Linked DNA regions of Homo sapiens: all the other regions are linked to region 1. The links are contacts of gene promoters, found by promoter capture Hi-C in blood cells and fetal thymus (Javierre and others, 2016). All regions are on one chromosome and are shown on one strand. The core of a region is centred on a gene start or on the middle of the fragment in contact, and the rest is flanking DNA. Distances in the headings are between cores, read along the strand shown.

Evidence for each region. Contacts are between HindIII fragments. The CHiCAGO score rates a contact against its expected background, and 5 or more counts as called.
Region 2: a contact is called between the fragment with the promoter of POGLUT1 here and a fragment that was not itself captured in region 1, in 2 of 17 cell types (naive B cells and non-activated CD4 T cells). The highest score is 5.6, in naive B cells.
Region 3: the fragment with the promoter of CHCHD6 here is called in contact with a fragment that was not itself captured in region 1 in 1 of 17 cell types (activated CD4 T cells); the score reaches 5.7 in activated CD4 T cells.
Region 4: the fragment with the promoter of SEC61A1 here is called in contact with a fragment that was not itself captured in region 1 in 2 of 17 cell types (total CD8 T cells and total CD4 T cells); the score reaches 7.6 in total CD8 T cells.

What each region holds. Positions count from the first base shown.
Region 1 is chr3:123,581,553-123,584,720 of GRCh38, forward strand. It overlaps HACD2 (3-hydroxyacyl-CoA dehydratase 2), which reads right to left. Exons shown (of 7, transcript NM_198402.5): 2 at 660-777. Among named protein-coding and RNA genes, the nearest start is that of HACD2, 1.9 kb to the right of the region's middle. RefSeq lists silencers at 2,826-3,005, 3,016-3,168. The HindIII fragment of the contact is 262 bases long and covers 1,659-1,920 here.
Region 2 is chr3:119,467,251-119,470,487 of GRCh38, forward strand. It overlaps POGLUT1 (protein O-glucosyltransferase 1), which reads left to right and starts at 1,713. Exons shown (of 11, transcript NM_152305.3): 1 at 1,713-1,856; 2 at 2,570-2,660. The coding sequence starts at 1,772. RefSeq lists enhancers at 1,377-1,877, 1,570-1,739 and a silencer at 1,790-1,989. The HindIII fragment of the contact is 3,798 bases long and covers 1-2,337 here.
Region 3 is chr3:126,702,938-126,706,018 of GRCh38, forward strand. CHCHD6 (coiled-coil-helix-coiled-coil-helix domain containing 6) reads left to right here and starts at 1,303. Exons shown (of 8, transcript NM_032343.3): 1 at 1,303-1,462. The coding sequence starts at 1,376. RefSeq lists enhancers at 883-942, 2,003-2,554 and a silencer at 1,493-1,692. The HindIII fragment of the contact is 1,689 bases long and covers 682-2,370 here.
Region 4 is chr3:128,051,123-128,054,302 of GRCh38, forward strand. SEC61A1 (SEC61 translocon subunit alpha 1) reads left to right here and starts at 1,315. Exons shown (of 12, transcript NM_013336.4): 1 at 1,315-1,437; 2 at 1,713-1,780. The coding sequence starts at 1,431. LOC102723759 (a long non-coding RNA gene) reads right to left here and starts at 1,053. Exons shown (of 4, transcript XR_007096073.1): 1 at 840-1,053. RefSeq lists a cis regulatory region at 880-1,496 and a silencer at 989-1,628. The HindIII fragment of the contact is 3,738 bases long and covers 1-2,580 here.

The DNA of each region.
Region 1 (3,168 bases), core at 540-3,039:
AGAAAGCAAGAGAATCTGGCAGTGTCAGCTCCTTGGTTCTCATTCCTGAGCTAGTTTCTTTGTAAATTAATCCTGTATCTGTATCAACTACAGAGGCCAGAAAATTCCTTTTTTGCTTAAAATAGTTTGAATTGGGTTTTTGTCCCTTGCAATTCCAAAATCCTAATCTATACTTACCCCAAGAGAGAGGGCTGGATATACATTGCCCTTAATGCAGGGAAATCAATACATTTTTGTTAAATTTTTAAAATTTGGACGCCTCTAGACAGGCTCTCTATTATGTCTTCTATCTATCACTTCCAATATCCTACACCCACCAACTTCACTATTTCTATTACATAAACCCTGAAAGCATCTGATTTTGCCAGTGCTTCCCCAGGATGTCCCTAGAATTTTTAAAAATCCTAATATAAGCTTGCTTCAGTTGATTTCCCAAAAAAGTCGAATATAAAATACATTCAAGGTAACCTAAGTTAAATGAGATTCTACCCAATCTAGAACATCAAAAAGCCTAGGTATCAACACTTTAGTATGTGAGGAGGCAAAATTTCAAAATTTAACATGAATCCAAAGGGGGTATGCTACTTCAATATAATTTAGTTGCATGTTTTTCTTCATACCAATGGAAATCAATAACAACAATAAATCTCAGGACCTACCTCCAATAAGGCTCCAGTTTGAAAGAATTTCAAAGGCTTTTCAATTGAATAATAAAGGCTATGGTAGCTACCCTTAGCCAGGTATGCTCGGACCAGACCAACCGCTATAACCAGCCACCTAGTAAAAGAGAAAACAGCAATCAGGAAAAAATAAAAATAAAAAAAGTAGCATTTAGGTTAACACACAGCTGTGGCAATAAAAGATATTGCTAAAGGTGACCTCAAGCATGAGTAACCTGGATTTATGGACGATAGCTCTCAAATGCCAAGCTGTAATGCACTGAAATGTTGCAACACCGACAGCACCTTACCAAGAGGGCTCAGTGAAAGCATAGTGGCACCTCACCCATCTGGAGCTCATTTTTTTGGCAACTTTGCTATTGAGATCAAGGCCAAAAGGAAAGGAATAAGCTAAAATGGTCCTTGTGCCACTAAATCAGGTGCCAAGAAAATCTAAGACGAGAAAAAAACAGTTAAAGGAAAATTTTAAACAGCCTGTGCAGTTAAAGGGTTTTTAATAATTACAGGGTGGAAAGAAGATGCTTTAAACTATTGTTATAATTGTCTCACTGGAACAATTACCCATACCTTAAAATCTATCCTTTTAAAATTACGAATAAAGGGCTCTTGCTAAAAAAAAAAAGTTTTTTAGCCAAATTTCCTAAAATCAATGCAGAAATGAAAGCCAGATCAATACAAACCACGAAACAGGAAAGCACTTAAGCATACAGCTGTGAATGTTATATTTTTGTTCCACTGTCCTTCTCAAAAATAAACACAATGTTTTGTTAAGTTCCATAATAAAACAAATGGACCTTTTTATTAAGGTATGTCTCCTGGAAGGATTTAGATAAATGTATAGTATCAACTAGGCAATGGGGTGTGTGTGGTCTATGCTATTTCCAAAAACTATCACATAAGGACATCAAGTAAGAGTTTGTAAAAGAAGAAATTATTTAATGGTGTAACTGGTACAACCATTAACAGCCTTAAAAAAAAAGCTTACTTTGCTCTCACAATCCCAATTTATCTTCCTGGTTTAAGATACCACTCCTTACCCTCCACCCCATTCTCTATGTTCATTGCTCAGGAATAGACTTCTTTCTTCTTACCAATGTACCTCAAAATCCCTCTCCAGTCCAATGCCCTCACCGGCTCTTGCTAAGACAACAAGAATTTTATATATAAATATTAATACACACAGTGAGATTCCTGGATGTTTTTTTAAAAATCAATCTATGTGACCACTGATGTGATATAAAGCTTGTATCTGTACTAGTTCTTCATTGACCTGTGAGTCAAGAGAAATGATTTCTAGATCTGGAACTTCTACTAACAAGTTCTATGATCTCATGCAAGTCACAACTTCTCTGAGCCTAGGTTCCAACACCTACCATTTCTAATACTAGCAATACATATATGATCCTCCCACGATATATTTTCTTCTTCGTGAAAAAAAAGCAAGGTGCTGAACTGTAAAAATATTAATATATTGGCATTTGTCTTATTTTAAAAAGGGATAGGGGGATGTATAAACATATTTGCTTGCATCAGCATCTTAAGGATACACAAAATTAACTGCCTCGAGGGAGGGGAGCTGGGTAGAAGGGAAAGGTGGGAGGAAAGATTTTCACTGTATTCCCTCATGTTTTTCATTTTTAACCCTAACAATGTATCACCTACTTTAAATAAAAATGGATGTTCACTATACAATTCTTTCAACTCTTCTGTATGTTTGAAATTTTTCATAATAAAATGTTAGGACTTCTTAAAAAATTACAAATGAAGATAACTTAAAAATATATAACTGTCTGATGCTGTGATCCTCCTCACCAAAATGACAAGATAAAGAATTGCAGAGCTGAAGGAACCTTCATCACCCAGACCAACCCTTTAGTTTTACAAATGAAAAAACGGAGGCTAGAGAAATAAGATGATTTATCCAAAGTCACACAGCTAGTTAGTGGCAGAGCTTGAACTAAAAACCCGCCGGGATAAGGGATGCACTGAAATGAAAGAGACAGAAGATGGGTAAAACCGTTTCGAGGGTCCATTCTCCCCCTTTCCAGTAACTCTGCCTTCTACTCCCCAGTTTCTTCCCCACCCCAACCCATCCTAAAAGTCTAAACTCATCTAAAGCCTAGCTCTGCTCATGTCGCTGGCCAAAAACTTTGAACGCTTTCCCAATACCTTTCAGATTAAAGCGCAGCCCAGATTTTGAAAACAGCCGCCCAAATGAATGGTCACTCTGCAGCCACAGCTCCTCCACTCCCCATGCTGGCGCCGTTCAACATCCGAATCTGGCCGCCCAGGACGGGCTCCGCGCCGCAGGTAGTCCGGCCGCTGCCCCCGGCCCCGCACCTGTGGCCAGCCCCACCTTTCCTCCCGCGGCCCTCGCGAGCCAGCGCCCGGCAGCCGTCCCCGCGCCCCAGTGCCTGGGAACTTGGCTCGACCCCCAGCGCAGGAGGGAGCTCGCGGGCAGCCACCGGGGCCGATTCAGCGCTCGGCC
Region 2 (3,237 bases), core at 463-2,962, 4.1 Mb before region 1:
TGTACTTCCCTGTATTTCCATATTTCCACAAGGCTTAGGGATATAACCATGTACATTTTAGAAAATAGATAAATATTGCTGGGCGCAGTGGCTCACGCCTGCAATCCCAGCACTTTGGGAGGTCGAGGCTGGTGGATCACCGGAGGTCGGGAGTTCGAGACCAGCCTGACAAATATGGAGAAACCCCATCTCTACTAAAAATACAAAATTAGCCGGGTGTGGTGGCGCAAGCCTGTAATCCACCTACTCAGGAGGCTGAGGCAGGAGAATTGCTTGAACCCAGGAGGCGGAGGTTGTGGTGAGCCGATATTGAACCATTGCACTCCAGCCTGGGCAACAAGAGCGAAACTCCATCTCAAAAAAAAAAAAAAAAAAGAAAATAGATAAATATTTGTAGTTCTATGATTACTAAATATATCTACACTGACCTATATATACCTGTATAAAGATATATACCTGTACTATACTATATACCTATATTGTCCAGTATCATGTTGCCCACTGTCAAGAAACAAAATTTCATCAAATTTAGTTTAAAGTTCTTGGCCAGGCATGGTGGCTCACGCCTGTAATCCCAGCACTTTGGGAGGCCGAGGTGGGCAGATCACCTGAGGTCAGGAGTTTGAGACCAACCTGGCCAACACGGTGAAACCCTGTCTTTACTAAAAATACAAAAATTACCCGGGCATGGTGACACACTCCTGTAATCCCAGCTACTCGGGAGACTGAGACAGAAGAATTGCTTGAACCCGGGAGGCAGACGTCATAGTGAGCCAAGATTGTGCCACTGCACTCCAGGCTGGGCAACAGAGTTAGACTGTCCTCTGTCTCAAAAAAAAAAAAAAATCGAATTGGCTTTTATTAGTGATTCATGAATCAGGCAGCATCTCATCTATAAAACAGAAAAGTGTTCTAATGAGCTGAGCAGAAGGGGTTGGGCTTATAGGCAGAAAAGGGCTGAAGAAAGCAGAAATAAGGAACAAAAAGCAGATTGGTCATTTTGAAGTTACTTTCCTCAAAGAGTTACATCAGAGGGGACTTCTTTATCATGCCAGCTCAGGTATATGGGCCCCTTCTCCTATTTGTTGGAAAACTGACCCCTTTTAAAGCTGAGTTTAATTACGCAGCACCTAGGACAAGTTGCCTCCATTCTGGTTTTGTCTGCTCTCTTGAGGCCTAGTGCCAGAGTTCTGTCCAAAACAACGACCTCCCATAAACTTTATTTAACACCATTGATCTTTTTTCCTACGTCTAAGTCACCCCAACTGTTATAAATTCCTATTACAAAGGGATCCCTGCTATGCTAATTGCAACCTTTGGGGTCTAACCGTGCTGTACACACACACACACACACACACACACACACACACACATGCTCAACAAATTTATGCTATTTGATAAGAGGCAATTTGACGTCAAGAGAAGAACTGTTTGGCCTAGGCTCTATGCCAAGTCTTGGTTGTGCCACTAACCGTGAAACATACCCTCTCTGACCTTCAGTTTTCTGGCTGCAGACCTATTTTCCCAGGGGTGCCAGGGAGGGAGGATAGGCAACTGGTCCATTCGTTTATCCTCCCCACCTTCCCGGCGCAGCCTTCTCAGGGAAACTCCGCCTCAAGGCTGGGGACTGGAGGAAGGGTGGTGGGGCCACGGTGGCCATCTTTGTGCGGGGCGACCCGCCGCCCACGTGCTGCGGCTCCCGGGCCATCTTTGTGCGGGGCCGCGCTTCCGCCAGCGCCGCAGCGGGGAATCTGCAGTAGGTCTGCCGGCGATGGAGTGGTGGGCTAGCTCGCCGCTTCGGCTCTGGCTGCTGTTGTTCCTCCTGCCCTCAGCGCAGGGCCGCCAGAAGGAGTCAGGTGGGCTCCGGGCAGTGCCGAGCCTGCCCCTTGGGCTCGGGGTCTGGCCGGAGTCCCGAGGCGCTCCCCCGCGCGGCCGGCTCCCGGGAAGATGCCGTGGCCGCTGTAGCTCGGAGCTGGGCAGAAGGCACCGGGGCGCCTTGCGGCGGAGAGTGAGGTGCCGGGGTCTCTGCTCCTGCTCTGGACCCTGGAGAGTAACCCATTCCCCGGAATTCAGAATGACAGGGAGGAGAGGGAATTCCCCGTTCACCCGCAGGAGGCGTGGCCCGTGCTTGGCTACTCTGGACCTGCCTGAAACACTGAGGGGTCGGGGATGGGGGCAAATGTCGTGCGCGCGAGCGTGTGTGTATATGCGTTGCCAGAAGAGAAGAGGGGTTTAATGTCTGTAGCTTTTAACTGATCCTCTTTGTGGAGTTCAATTTGATTAGTAGAAAGTGAGAGTCCGCGTCACTATCCATAGCATTCTGAGGGTTGAGCATTAAGCTTGGGAATTTTCCAGTTTCTTGGACACCTGACAGCCGGATAGAGGAACAGACTTGACGTGAGCGTGGGAGTTGCACACACAAAAATTCCTCCCTAGCGTTTCGTTTCCATCAGTGGGATGGGAAGGGGATTTCTGAAAGTTTTGGTCTTCTGTTTCTTCTGTTGGTGTGGTGTCAGCAAATAACATTCAGGAAAATTTTTTTAACTCTCATTTACTTCACTTTTTAAAGGTTCAAAATGGAAAGTATTTATTGACCAAATTAACAGGTCTTTGGAGAATTACGAACCATGTTCAAGTCAAAACTGCAGCTGCTACCATGGGTGAGTTCTTTTCTTTGATGTGTCTTTGAGAGTTTAGTTGCTGTCACAGGAAGTATTCTAACATCCTTGAGAGATTTTGGTTGCAGTGGTCAGAAAGGCAAGGATGTTTTTCTATTTCTGGGGAATAAAAATGCTCTCGCATGGGAAAGGCTCAGGTGGTGTCAACCTAACCACTGACTCACTGCGGGATTCAGTGCATGTGCATCTGTTTTTCCCACTGGGCTGCAAGCTTCCTGAGGTCAGGGTCTGTGTCTTATTTGCTGTTGTCTCCCTGGTGCTAGCTGTCAGTGCGTGCTCGATAAATATTGTTGAGGAAATAAACCCATCTATCGCTGAATCTAGTCCTAAATTTCCTGATGGTTATCTTTAGAAAATGCACATCAGGCTGGGCATGGTGGTTCATGCCTGTAATCCCAGCACTTTGAGAGGCCAAGGCAGGTGGATCACCTGAGGTCAGAATTTCGAGACCAGCCTGGCCAACATGGTGAAACCCTGTCTCTACTAAAAATACAAAAATTAGCTGGGCATGATGGCACGTGCCTGTAATCCCAGCTACTCGGGAGGCTGAGGCAGGAGA
Region 3 (3,081 bases), core at 53-2,552, 3.1 Mb after region 1:
ATGGAGTGGGGTGCGCCAATGAAGTATTTTGAATGAAACTAGCAGACACCTTTGTTCCTAAAGATTCCATCGTCACACCAGCTCTGGGATGTTTACTAGCTTCTTCACCCTGAGCTATTCTCAATCTCAGAGCCTTACTGCTCTCTCTCAATCATTCTCTCCTCCTCACCCCTTTCTTTCCAGGTTGCCAATAGGAGCTCCAAATATTTTCTGGCTATTTCATGTAGCCATCTAGTTTTCCTCAGCTCGGCTTCAGGCGCACTTTTGCAAATCAAAGCCATTCAGCAACTCAGAGGAACAAAAAGGGGCTTATTTGAAGGTAGCAGTGTCTATGACTGGCAACCGTCTGTGTGCTCCCTTACACATAGGGTCCTGTGTAAGAAGCCTACACACAATGCCTGGCACACTGCACTCCACACATGGTATGTACACTCCTTGGGCAATGCCTCCTAACGGCTTAGGACCATTCCCTGTCCTCCCGGGGCGTTTAGAATAAAACCCACACTCAGACCCTGCCTCACAAGACCCGACATGATTTGGGTCCTCACCACTCCTCTGCCCTCTTCTCACTTTCCAGCCATGGGATGACCCCTCTTTCTCTTTTCCTGCCTGAGACTCCCAGGAAACCTCTTCCCCTACCTTTTTCTACATAAATCCTACTCTCCCGCCGGCTCAGTTCAAAGCTTCTTCCTCAGAGGTTGCTCTGGCCACTGAAATTAAAAGAGGCCTCCTTCTGTTCATTTTACTAGTGGCATCGCCATGCAGTTTTCCGTGTATTACAGTCAGTTTCCTTGCGTGCGTGTTTGGCTTTTCACTTGTTTTCCCCTTGCACTGTAAACCTCTCAAGGGCAGGACACTCGCTGTCTTGAGGGGCGCTGTAATGCCAGGGCCAGGTCCCTGCTCGTCTGGCGCTCAGCCCGTGCTGCTCTACACGTGTTTGCTGAATGAATGGAGCAGTGAACCCTCAGAAATTCGCCTCCAGATGAGCGCCTTGGCCGTCTCGGCGTCTCCTGGCCTCAGAACATCACCCTTGGCTCTCCCTCAAGGGGGAGCTCCCAAAGCGAGAACGTGACCCTGTCCTGCACCCAGCCCTCCACTCCAGGGCCTCCGCCGGTACACATCTTCGGCCTCAGCCTAACGCACTCTAGCAGGCACAGACCGCCACGCCCCCACCCCTCCAGACGGAAGGACTGCAATCCCCACAAGGCACCGCGACTCAGCGCCACCCGATTGGTGAAGCCTCTGGCGTCGGCCAATAGGACGTGGCTTTGTTGGCGTGTGCCGCGGCCGCGCGAGTCCTGGAAAGCGTTGTTGGCCCGGTTGCTCTGGAGCCGGGTCTCGGGTCTGGTGGCTGCCGGCCCTGCGGCATCTCGCCATGGGGAGCACGGAGAGCAGCGAGGGCCGCAGGGTGTCCTTCGGAGTGGACGAGGAGGAGCGGGTCCGGGTGCTGCAGGGTGTCCGGGTGAGCGGCGCCGCCTGGGCCGGGGCGGGCGTGGAGGCCGCGGGCGCGGGGGGGAGGTGCGGGGCGGAGCGCAGGGCCGGGGCTCTTTCCACGCGTGAGGGGCGTGGGGCTTGGGAGACTCCGGGGGCTCAGGCCAGGAAGAGGCTGAGCCGAGACGCGAGCCCGAGGCTGGCAGCCTTGGAGCTTCGCGACATGGGCTTCAGGGAAGGAGGAGTGAAGAACTGTACAGGTGCGAGGCCCCTGGGACACGAGGGACGCCCTGGCCACGTCCTGGCTCCGGTCGGCTTAGTTTTTACGTTTCTTGAATTTGCGCCCGGCCTCCCAGCCCGTGGCCCCTCAGGTGCGCGCATCTCGTTCTGGGTACGCGGTGTCTCCCACCTGGGCTTTGCCTGGGGACTCAGCTCTTCCCCGCCGGCCTGTTCTCCACAGCACATCTGCGGGGCGCAGGAAGAACCATAGCTCAGATCTGATCCCCTTCCTTGCCTGAAACCCTCCAGTGGGTTCCTAGCGCGCTTGGATGATGCCTTCCCTGGTTCCAAAGCTGGCCGCTGCCCGTCGACCTCTGGGGACTGCATCCCTCTGGGACTGCATCTCGTGCCATTTCCCTCGCGTGGCACCCGCACCTCGTCCCCAGCCTCAGGACCGCCGTGTTTTCCTGGAGGGTGCCGCTGGCTCAGCTCAGGGTCTGTGCGCCGGCTGTTCTCTCTCCTTCAGCTCTCCTTAAATCCCGCTGTTTCTTGTAATTCTTGTTGTAATTCAGATATCACCAGAGAATCCTTCCCTGACCACCCAATCTGAAGTAACCTCCCACCCCGCGTCCAACATTTATTATTTTCATAGCACTCATCACAGTGATCGCTTCTGTTGATAATTGTTTACTTGTTTATTGCGTTTACTGCTAGAGTGTAAGCTTTTTGAGGCTAAGGTTCCTGTCTGATTGAAGACTGTCCCCAGAACCCAGAAGAATAAAAGCAGCTCTTATTGCAGTGTAGGGGCCATGCGTTGGACTAAACCCTTTATAAGTTAACTGATTTAATTTTCAACAGCCCTATTTAGCCCATTATTGTAGATTAAGGAGAAGTGAGGCACTGAGAGGTGAACGAACTGATCCAAGATCATGTAAATAGTAAGTGGGAGAGCTGGGATTGAAACAAGCCAATTCCAGGGCATGTTGCTGTGCTCGGCCTCTTCCTCCACCTGTGTCTACACCTGCAGGTGCTTTGTAAGTAACTGTGGAGAGATGAATGAACCCAGTAAAAGGGACTAGGATTAAATGAAACGCACAGAGCTGGGTGTAGATGAATTAGTTAATTAAGGAGGAATTAGGGAGGTGGCTTAGAAAGACAGACTTCAGGAGTTCTGGCAGGTGCTCATTAGCTGTGTGACCTTGGGTAAAAAACTCTTTTGAGCCTCAATGGCCACATTAAAAAAAAAATTGGGTGTGTATGTATCCTAGGTACTGCCTAGGATAAGATGATGTCTGTGAAAGTGTTAAGGAAACGCACAGAGAGAGTGCTTTGTGGAGGCCTCTCTTCTTAGCCTAGCAGAGTACTTGGCACATTTGGTGCTTGCTAGGCGTTGTATAGTTTTGTGGACCTCACTCGTGGCAAGGATTAAAT
Region 4 (3,180 bases), core at 65-2,564, 4.5 Mb after region 1:
ATTTCAGACTCTGAATAAAGAGTCAATGTCTTCTTTTTCCCCTTTTTGGTGGGGGATGGATATCAAGTGATGTCACACCTAGACCACTTCACTGAAGTTACCTGCCTGTTCCCAGTAGTCCTTTGAATTTTCCACCAGTGGGTTTGTATTCCAAAAAAGACTTCCTGTCCTGTCCAACTTTCTGAGCCAAGAATGTACAAAACCTGATTATCTGCTAGAAATGGGTGAGAATGGAAAAATCCAAATAGTTGACACCTAAATTAAAAGCAAAAAAGCATCTTGCCACATATGTACCCTCAACTTCTACCTGTCCTGGTCAAGGTTTAGCTCCATGAAACCTTGCCTGATCCCACAAGGCGTGCCCACCTCCTCCCTGCTAAATGCTCACAGCATTAAGTCTGTTTCTCTTAGATGACATCATACCTACTGACTACAGATGCCTGAAAGTAAATTCCAACCCCCAGCCCCAGCATCCCTTGCCCTACCCGTTATCCCCCTTTCCCACACCGATCTTAGGCAATCACACCGCCATGCTTTGCCCACAACAGTCTCCTCAACCTGTTCCCTCATTCCTTCTCGCCAGAATCTATCAAGGCTCGGCACAAAGGTACTCTCCCAGGAGGCCTTCCTGAATTCTTCTGTGAGGCAGACTACTTCCCGAGCTGCCCCGGCCCTTCTCCGGCCAAGTCTCTCCAGAAACTCATCCCATTCGTTCTCAGATGGAAGGGGACCCACACCCACGACAAGCCTCCGGGTTTGCTTAATGACTCAGACAGCGAGGGTGCTCGGTAAGCCCCACCAGCCCGCGCCCTACTCAGCAGGTAATGACGGAGACCTACTAGGTGACGGGCGCCGCGGTAGACGCTGGGATAAGGTCCCTGCTCCAGGGAGCTTACGGTCTATTCACTAACGTCAAAGAGCAGTGAGTGCTGTTACGTGTATGGGAGCCACCAGGGTCTCCGCCTGCCTGCAGGGCCACGCGCGCACTCGACGCTTCGCGCCTGCCTCAGTTTCTCCGTGAGGCCGCACAGCCCCAGTCTCGGGAGGCGTGACACACCCTCCCCGCGCGCTCTCGCGTTACCAAGTCTGCGCAGCCGCACACCCCCAGTCCCGGCGGGCCCCGCGCGCCAGGCCCCTTCCCGACAGGCCCCAGGAGCCCCGCTGCATGCCGGGGCTTGAGGTCTCGGCGAAGCGGCGCGGCGCGGCGAAGCGCGGCGGCCGGCGGGCGCGCGTGGCAGGAAGCGGAAGCGATCCGAGGCCCGGCCCCGGCCCCGCCCCGCGCCGCGCCGCGCCGCTTGCCGCCGGGCTAGCACTGACGTGTCTCTCGGCGGAGCTGCTGTGCAGTGGAACGCGCTGGGCCGCGGGCAGCGTCGCCTCACGCGGAGCAGAGCTGAGCTGAAGCGGGACCCGGAGCCCGAGCAGCCGCCGCCATGGCAAGTGAGTCCTGTAGGGAAGCCCTATTGAGGCCGGGACGGAACAGATCCCCCTTCCCCACACCCGTGCGGTCGGGCGCCCGCCGGCCAACCCTGACCGGCCCCCTGCAGAACGCGGCCCGTGCCCCCGGCCCTTCTCGAGTATCCCCACGCGTCCGGGGTGCGGCCGGCTCCCCTGGCCCCTGCTCTCACTCGTCGTGGGCAGAAGGCGTCCCTGGGTAGCGCGGAAGGTTACTTCTCTGTGTCCCAACTCTTCCTGTTTTGTTTCTCCCATCAAAGTCAAATTTCTGGAAGTCATCAAGCCCTTCTGTGTCATCCTGCCGGAAATTCAGAAGCCAGAGAGGAAGGTAAGTACCCCAAATCGCCAACAAAGAAGGTTTCAGGAAACTGTCTGGACTCTGGAAGTTTACAGTATGATTAAAAATGGCTTCAGCACGGCAATGGAAACTCTCCCTTCTCTTCCCTTGGAGTGTAGTTGTGCTCTGTTATTCCGGAGAGCTGTCGAAAGGTGACCTGGTTGTGTGGAAATTTCCACTGAAATCACTGTGCTTTATTTGGAGCATCTTTGGTGGATGTTGCTCCGAGAACAAAGCCTCCGGTTGCCCTGTCCCAAAAATGGATCCGGGCCATGAATGAATAAGGCCTCAGTTAGGATAGCAGATTGAGTTACCCTCCCTTTTTCACCTCCAACGGGAGCAGATCACGGGTTGGTTTTTTTTCCCAGGAGATGCCCTTTGTATCCAGCTGCTAAAGGGAAGGGCTGTCACTTTAGTATTTACAAATGATTTTGTACCTTTTATGTAGGCTGTCACAATAGGGGGAATAAAGGCTATTCTTTTGTGAAGTCTGCTGCTTTTCACAGACGGTGTATTAAAACAAGGAAAGATTAAATTTAGAGCTGTGCTGAATCAGAAATTGTGTGGAGTGAGTGTTGCCAGTGTAACTACAGCTGTCAACGAAAAAAAGTTTCATTAGGTTCCTAGGTTAGAGAGTGGGGAATAAAATGTTTGTGTCCTCACATTATTTTTCAAACTGTTGTTAAAGCATTCACATGGACACTTGGGTGCTTGGAATCCACTTTCATTTTTTTACGTAAAATAGTTTCATATAAATGCCCATGTGCTGCTTTTAATGGACGAATTTGTAAAGCTTTACCCCCTCAATTCCAGTGTAGCGAAGGGGCATGGCTCTGGAGGCAGGCAAGCCTAGGTCCCACCCTTTACATAGCACCTTAATAGCTATGTGACCTTGGCCTTGTAACTCAGTGTGGTAGACGGAACAAGGGAAATACGTGCAAGGTATAGCAGTGGCTCAGGAAGGGATTAACTCTGGGAGACATGATGTCTTATGGTGGTTTTGAAGGAGAAATAGAAGTCTCCTTGAAGGGACGGAAAGGAATTCCAAATAAAAGGAGTATATAGTTTGCAAAGGCATTGGTGACAAGAGTGTAGCATGTTTGGATGGGAGGTTATTAGATGTAGTTGCTATTGATAGAACATAATTGTAGGTGGGGAACATTAGGAGATGAATAACAAGGGCCAGACATGAGAATGTCACTTTGGAAGAAAAGGAGAGGACTAGAGTTGGTTTAGAGGCTTTTCACATCAGAGGATGAACTGTGGTACTGAGCAAGAATGGATTTAGGGGCTACTAAGAAGCAGAGGAGACAGGACTTGGATAAAGAGCTTTTGGGGTTTTGATGTTAAATTTGATTGTAACCAGGAGAGAGGACTTGGTGATTAGAAAG